2 separate regions of the Homo sapiens genome follow, and region 2 is linked to region 1. The links are contacts of gene promoters, found by promoter capture Hi-C in blood cells and fetal thymus (Javierre and others, 2016). All regions are on one chromosome and are shown on one strand. Each heading gives the region's core, a stretch centred on a gene start or on the middle of the fragment in contact. The rest is flanking DNA. Distances are from core to core; before and after follow the strand shown.

What was found. The method cuts DNA at HindIII sites, captures the fragments that hold promoters and counts their contacts. A CHiCAGO score of 5 or more calls a contact.
Region 2: a contact is called between a fragment that was not itself captured here and the fragment with the promoter of ACAA2 in region 1, in 1 of 17 cell types (monocytes). The highest score is 5.1, in monocytes.

The regions. Positions count from the first base shown.
Region 1 is chr18:49,811,653-49,815,773 of GRCh38, reverse strand. ACAA2 (acetyl-CoA acyltransferase 2) reads left to right here and starts at 2,241. Exons shown (of 10, transcript NM_006111.3): 1 at 2,241-2,305. The coding sequence starts at 2,290. SNHG22 (small nucleolar RNA host gene 22) reads right to left here and starts at 1,751. Exons shown (of 4, transcript NR_117096.1): 1 at 1,712-1,751. It also overlaps SCARNA17. RefSeq lists silencers at 1,729-1,898, 2,141-2,435, 2,329-2,448. The HindIII fragment of the contact is 2,119 bases long and covers 871-2,989 here.
Region 2 is chr18:48,527,245-48,531,515 of GRCh38, reverse strand. No RefSeq gene overlaps it. Among named protein-coding and RNA genes, the nearest start is that of CTIF, 9.7 kb to the left of the region's middle. The HindIII fragment of the contact is 3,607 bases long and covers 1-3,122 here.

The DNA of each region.
Region 1 (4,121 bases), core at 992-3,491:
ATTCCTATTTTAGCCATTTTTTGTTTTTCACCACACTGATGTTTTTAAAGAGTTCAGGTCAGTTGTTCTGTGGAATGTACCTCCATGTGGATTTGTCTCATTGTTTCCTTATAATTAGATTCAGGCCAGATGTTTTCAGCAGAAATTCTACGCAAGTGAGATTGTGTTGTCGCTGTAGCAAGGGGAGCGCATGACGTCAGTCTGTCCCTTTATTGGTGATGGGACACCATTACTTCATAATTTGGTGAAGTAATACCCGCAAGATTTATCCATTGTAAAGGTACCCTTTCCTCTTCATGAGACTTGGAGACTATGTCAATATTCTCTCATATATTTACGTGTTTTAATATATGTAAACCTTTCACTGAATGGTGTTAGAATCCACTCATTAGTGACATTTCCAATTAGAGAAAACACAGTACATCTATAAAGACCTACTGATGGTGATCTGCAGTGGGAAGTTGTGATACTTAACCTTTCTTAAATATGTAGAGGCAAACTGAATAGAAAACTGTGTACAAAAATGAACACTCTATACATGAGCATTTTTTTTTTTTTTTTTTTTGAGACGGAGTCTTGCTCTGTCACCCAGGCTGGAGTGCAGTGGCACGATCTCGGCTCACTGCAAGCTCCGCCTCCCAGGTTCACACCATTCTCCTGCCTCAGCCTCCCCAGCAGCTGGGACTACAGGCGCCCGCCACCACGCCCAGCTAATTTTTTTGTATTTTTAGTAGAGATGAGGTTTCACCGTGTTAGCCAGGATGGTCTCGATCTCCTGACCTCGTGATCCGCCCACCTCGGCCTCCCAAAGTGCTGGGATTACAGGCGTGAGCCACGGCGCCCGGCCTATACATGAGCATTTGTGAAGCTTGTCTAAGATTTGTACATTTGATTGCGTGGATATTTTGCCTTAAAAAGAACTGTAAATGAATAATGTGTGCTGATGTGTTCATGGGTGTAGAGTACTAAGGTCTGCATTAAAAAGATAAGATGGTTTGATGGAAGAACAGGTGGATAGCAATATAGCAAAATGTTAACAATTGGGTCGATATGTGTCCACTGTACAAGTCTTCCCACTTTTCTGTAAGTTTGTAAGTTTTCATAATACAAATTTGGATTTAAAAACACCCCAACATTGCAAGAGTGTCACCAAAGTGTTTGAAAAGCAGGATTCTAGGGGGGGCATTCGCTGACGACTCAGAGAAACCGTCCATGCCACCCACCACCCCTACGCACTCAAAAGAAGCCCTCGCTAGGCAGCCCGGCCCTCCGAGCCCTGGTATCGAGGGGCTCTCCGCCTCTCCCCTGCCGCGGCCGCCTCCTGCTTGCCCGGCCTCAGTCTGTTCTCAGAACATACTCCATCACCTGGTTCCCAGAACTCAGATTGCGCAGTGGTCTCGTCATCATCGGCCAGGACTCACAGTGCCCGCGGCAGAGGCCTCCCTAGACCTCCCTCCCGTCCAGCCTCACCCGCTGCCTACTCTCCTCACGCCCCTGCTCCAGGTCCCCTGGCCCCATTTCGCTCGCCACGTTTTCATAATCCTCTCAGGCTCCGGGCAAGCGGCGCCGCCCGCAATGGGACCTGATCATATAAGGAAAATACTGCGGGCTCATCCGGGGGCTGCAATGGGGACCCGAAAGCGCCCTAGCCTACTACAATCACCGCACCCCAACTGCCGCCCACCTCTCTGCCCTGCCCCCAGTACAGTACCCAAAACCGGTCCGGGTCCAGCTCGGCGGCCCAAGCCTCTGCCCAGCGGACTGCGCACCCGCCCGCCCCAGCCAATCCCGCCGCCGCCGCCGCGCCCCGCCCACAGGACGTTCGGTCCCGCCCCCAGCTGGCGGCCGCGGCCGCCCGCGCGCCAAGTTCCTCAGCCCTTGGCTCCTGCCCAGTGTTTAGGGTGTTGGCGGAGACAAAGGGGAAGAGTCATCGCCTGTCGGGGCTAGGATATGATGGGTGAGAGGTGTCAAACCAAATTCTCTCGGTTTGGAAACGGAGAAAATCTAAAAATGAGGATGTGAGGAAAGAGTCCGCTCTCAAGGCGCGTTGTGGTCTATCCGAGCCCCGTCCCCTGGGCTCCCTCGGGCTGGGGTGAGGCGGGCAGCGCTACGCGTGGGGTAGGACCATCTTACGCTGGGACCCCGCCAAGGAGCCCCAGGAAGTAGGTGAAAGGGCAGGGGCGTGGCTCTCGGGGCGCCACCCACGCTCTTGAAATCTGGGTGATTGCGAGCGGCCGCTCAGCGTCCCCCACACCACAGACCCGCGCCGCCGACGACCCAGCAGCCGCCATGGCTCTGCTCCGAGGTGAGCGCAGCCCCCTCCTCCTCTCCTCGCCCCTCGGGGTCCTGCCCTCCCCAGGCCAGGCCTCCGCTTCCGGCCGCCGCGGAGAGTCGGGGTCGTGGGGTGAAGTTCACTCAACCTCCTCGGTTTTGGAGCGGACGTGATAAAAACCCAGCCCGAAAGGCTTGTTTGGGTTAAGGAGAAAACCCTTACTTGTAAGGCGCTAGCGACAGCGATTTCGGTGCAATTTCCTGTTTAGTTGAGACCAAAGTTTGCTTGCATGTGACCTTGGAGGTCATTCCTTTCTTCGCCTAACAGTGACCCCACTAGTTCGAGTCCAAGTATTAGAAAAAATGGGGCGGCGCCATAGGCCGCGGGCGCCTGCTGCGGGGCAGCTGCGCACAGGAGCCCGCCGCTCGGCCTCGGTGGTCAGGGCTCCCCGGGTGAATCGATGGAGAGGCCTGCAGAAATGGTAGCTGGTGTTCTGCTGGAAGACCTGCCCTGCTCCCATTTCCCTTCTGTTGCTTTAGATTAGAGCGGTCACTCTATACCTAAGTTCTAGGGTTATGAACTTGTTTAAAACAACTGTGTAATAAACTCCCTTTTCAAAACAAGTGGGCACAGTCAATGGAATCTTACTTTAAGGATGTACGAGTCGAAGAACATTGAGGTGGAATACATATCGAGGCCCTGAGACAGGAAAAAGCTTGGCAGGATCTAAGAACCAAGCATTTTGGTGCTCCAGGGCCCTGTGGGCTCTGTAAGAAGGTGGGGTTTTGTTCCAAATTCAGTGGAAGGCAATACAGGGATTTAAAGCGGGGTAATGACAGGATCTGATTTCCACTCTGTCCGAATTTGGGGCGGTCTGTGTAATGGCGAAGAGACCATTTAAGGATCTATTGTAGAGGTCCAGGGAGCAGCAAATGATGGCTTTGACTCGTGTGGGGCAGTGTAATTGGGGAGAAAAGGGGAGGGATGAGTTGAGATAGATTTGGAGGTGGATTTGATAGAAAGTGGATTGGATGTGGTGGAGTAAATATAAGAAGGAAATGTCGAGAATGATGAAAAGTGTCTGGTTTGATGAACCGTGTTCATGATGATGCCACTTTACAGAGTGAGGAAAATTGGGAAAGGAATAGATGTGGAAAGAAGGATTGAGAATTCAGTTTTAGGCAGAAAACTTTTTGGTGCCTGTGAAGCAGCCAAGTGGAGATGCCAGCTAAGCATTGGTTAGGGGGATCTGAAAGTGAGAAGAACCAAAGTGGCATGGGAACAAATCAAGGGAAAAATCCGTATTCTGGGACCAAATGCAGTGTTTACAGTTTCCTGCAACGTGGATTTCATTTGCCAGTGCCCTTCCTGACTGAATTTACTACATTTACTTCATAAAGCAGCGTGGTGAATTTTTTTTAGACGAGGCATTTACACTTCATTTAAAAGGTGCATTGTCATGAGCTATCTTCTAAAAAAGGAAATAATATTTTTACTGATATCATTTTAATATTTTATCAGTGGTTCTTACCCTTTCTTATAATACAGACCTGTTTGAAAATTTCACAAATACTATAAACCCAAAAAGGAAAAAAATGCACATTGACACCTGTATTAAGGAAGTATAAAGTTTATAAATTTCTGGTACAATTTACTGTAGTGTTAGAGCTAGTGATCGTATTTTTTTCCATTTCCTTATTGTAGCAATTAGGAGGACACTCATGTCGAGAGAGGTAAAGTGGTTGTGTATAATAACACAGGTAGTTAGTGGCTGTGACTAGAACCCAAGCTTTGAGCTTGAAATAGTGATGTTACAGGCCAGCTAGAATCATTAAAGATAAACTTCTCT
Region 2 (4,271 bases), core at 70-2,569, 1.3 Mb after region 1:
CCTCACCCCACCTCTTTTTCCGTTTTGGCAAAATTATCAGATTTGTTTATACTCCACTCTTTCCAGAAATGACTCAAGACAGCTTTTTAAATTCTAAAATGTACCTACTAATATATAAAAATAGAAATTTACACAAAAGACACTTTGTAAGATGGTTATCCCTTTTACAAAAGAAGTAGCCATCATTTCTTTAAGTAGCAGCACGTCTGGTACATGCAATGTCAGACCTGATAGACCAAATTTTGCCTCATCAGCAGCTTTCTGGAATGTGTCTTCAGTATCAGTGTGGTTCACAGCATTACTCCCCATTATCACCTTCACAGGAGTCAGCTGATTTTCAGCAAGTCTGGGACTTGAACAAAGGCAAAGGGTGTGTGAAGCCTTTGAATTTATTTTGTGCAGAGCTAGGTGATTGAATGGGATCTGCTCTAGAAAGCACCAAGCTGCCACTTGGTCAGGGAACCCTGCTTGGGAGAGGTGGCAGAGGAGGTTTTCAGAAAAACAAGGGAGGATGCCTATTAGCTTATGTGGACTGGGAGACCACCCAGGGGAAGGGAGCAGTGTAGGGGAAATGCCGGGCTGCTGTGCTCCCTGTGGGGCAGTGGCAGAGGTGGCAAGCCAGCTTGGGACCTCAGATTGCGCCACAGAAGAGAGGAGAGCTGCCTGGTGACAGTTCACCTGTCCTACCCCTAGAAGAAAATTTTGGCTTGACACAGAGATAAGATGTGAAACATTCTCTCTTTGCTATATCCATATATTTCAGGACTTAGCAATCATGCCCTATGCTATAGTGAATATGTCCCAATGCATTATTTAACACATTTCTTTTTAACAAAAAGCATGTGTTGGGAACTTAATCCCTAATGCAACAGCGTTGGGGGGCAGGGCCTACTAGGAGGTGTTTAGGTCATGATGGCTCCACCCCATAATGGATTAATGCTGATTATGAAAGGGCTTCAGTCTGTGAGTTTGATCTCTTGCTCATGTGTGCTGTCTTGTCCTTCCACCTTCCACTATGGGATGACACAGCAAGAAGGTCCTTGCAAGATGTGGGCCCCTATACCTTAGACTTTCAGCCTCCAGAAAGGTAAGAAATACATATCTTCTCTTTATAAATTACCCAGTCTCAGGTATTCTGTTATAGAAGCACAAAATGGACTAAGACAACCTTTCAGTGGGCATGTTGCTGTGGCAACCTTAAAGTCACTGGAGGGCATCTATAATTGGCAGAAAATGGTATGAATTTAGTTACAGGTTTGTTTTTTTTTTTTCTGGGAGGAGTTTTTTAGTCTTAGGCTACTTAAAGTACTCACATGTGATCTTTTTGCCTGAGCAGACTAATAATCACCTCGCAATTTAATTACTAAGCCAGTACCAGTGAACTCTTCTCCTATCAATTGAGTTGTAATTTTTGAATACCAGCTTCTTGGACAGGGCCCATCTCTGGAAGCTGTGGTTACCCAGACACAAATCACAACCAGTGTTATGCTTTGTGAAACCAGTCGACTGTGGAGTCAGCTGGAGGGATCATTGACAAATGCAAGCATGTTCTGAGTGGCTCATCTGTCAGCTATGACAGGCATTCAGTTCTGCTAAAGAGCATTCTGGGTTGGCCACACTGTCACTTCTCCATTCCCTACAATCTTCTACCACTGGATGTGTTCCCATTTCCTAGGTATAGAAAACTCCTAATCATGGTGGTTATTTTATAATTTTAAAATAGTAAAAATCTTTTTATTAAAAAAAATGGTAAAATACACATGACATAAAATGTACCATCTTAAACATTTAATTGTATGCTTACTGCACACTTAAAATTGGCATTAGTAAATTCACACTGTTATGCTTCCATCACTAGCATTAATCAACAAAACTCTTCATCTTGCAAAACTAAAACTATGTGCTCACCAAAACACAATTCTCCATTCTCTTCTGTCGCCAGCTCCTAGAAACCACTAGTCTACATTTTGTTAATATGAATTTGGCTAATCTAAGTGCCTCATGTAAGTGGAATCATACAGTATTTGTCCTTTTGTGACTGGCTTACATCACTTAGCATAATGCCCTCAAGGTTATTCCCTGTTGTAGCACGTGTCAGAATTTCATTTCTTTTTAAGGCTGAATAATATTCCATTGCATGTATATACCACGTTTTGATTACCCACTTGTGCATGGATGGACACTTGGGTCACTTCCACTTTTTGACTGTTGTGAATCATGCTGTTACAAACGTGGGTCTACAAATACCCCTTTGAGTCCTCGCTTTCATTTCTTTTGAATATATACCCAGAAGGGAAATTGCTGGATTATATGGTAATTCTACTTTTAGTTTTTTGAGGAACTACCATACTGTTTTCCATAGTGGCTACACCATCTTACATTCCCACAACAGTGCACGAGTGTTCCAATTGCTCTGCTTCCTTGCCAATACTTGTTATTTTCCATTTATTTGTTTGCTTGTTTTGGATAGTGGCCATTCTAATGGGTGTGATGCAGTCATAGTTATTTTTTTAAGGGGAGGGCTTGTCTAACCTGAACGTTTAATGATAATACGACTTCGAAAAGCAATTATAATAGCTGACATTAATTGAACACATAACATAGACACTCTATGTTGCCACATTTGATCCTCAAGTCAACCCCATGAGTAATGTGCCATCATCATTCTCATTTTACAGATGAATAAACTGAGACCCAGAGAGTTTATATAATTTGTGATTTGTCCAAGGTCACACAACCAGGTAATCATTCTGTACCATTGAATGTAGACACTGAGGAAGCTATAGGATTCCTCAGCACAGAACAAGACCTGCTTATTGGTGGATAAGACAACCTCTAGTAAGGCAGCTCTTTTCATGTATTTCTAAAATTTGGTGCCTTTCCTGGTGATGACAACAAACAACATTGAAGACAATGATGATGATGATGTTAAAAAAAGAAAAGAGGAATTGAATATAAGCAAACATTCAGCTCTAATCTCCATATGTAAAAAAAACCCTGAAATCCCCATTATTTGAACATTACATATTCATAGAGAACTAAATTAGAGGGTGATTATTCATATAATGGAATTATTTGCCTTATAGAAGGATTCACTGCATTATCCTCTGCTGTGACAAGCTTTCCCAGTTCATTTAAAATAGGAATTAATTTATAACAATGTGATGTATATATAGTTTTCCCCCAGAACACATCTACTGCTCAGCATGAAGCCAAATCAAGTCGCTAAAATGATTTTGATTACTGGATAATGATAATGGGGAATATTTGCTCACTTCAGCATTTGAGGATTCCAACTAGGACAGGATTTGTAGACCCAACTGTCAAACCACTATCCTTAATCTTGGTGGAATTATGAAGACCAGAAAAATGCCAAAAGACAGCGGGAACAGATCATTAAACAAAAAGTTTGCAAGCACTTACGAAGAAGTAATCATGTGGAGACTCCTTAACAGGACCTAAATAAAAAGACAAGCCAATCTTTTCTTATCATCATAATGTTAATAGAAAATTAGAACACAGTCATATCTTTGTTATATATCTGACAATCTTGTCTGACCTCATGAAAAAAAGTAATGCTGATGGGTAAGAACGCATGACTAGATCAGCAGTTACTTCTGACTTTTTAGTGTGTTGGTGTAAGATTTCTGTCCAGCTAATCAGCACTCAGTAACACATTCCCACCCTATCAATTAGGAATTGCATTCAGCTGCTAATAACAGAGATACAAATTACAGCGGCTTAAGGAAGATTTCTCTCCACATTAAGAAAAATGGTACGGCCACTTTGGAAGACAGTTTGGCAGCTTCTTACAGAACTAAACACACTCTTATCATACAATCTAGCAGTAGCTCTCCTTGGTACTCACCCAAATGAGTTGAAAACTTATGTCCACACAAAAACCTACACATAAATGTTTATAGCAGCTTTATTCATAATTGCCAAAGCTTGGAAACAACCAAGATGTCTTTCAATAGGTGAGTGGATAAACAAACTGTGGGACATTCAGACAACGGAAAATTATTTAGCGATGAAAAGAAATGAGTTATCAAGCTACAAAAAGACATGGAAGAATCTGAAATGCATGTTGCTAAGCAAAAGAAGCTAGTCTGAAAAGGCTACATACTGTACGATTCCAACTATATGACACTATGGAAAAGGCAGGGACAGTAAAAAGATCAGTGGTTGCCAGGGATTAGCAGGGAGAGAGGGATGAATAGGCAGAGGATTGTTAGGCAGTGACACTACTCTGTACAATACTATAATCGTGG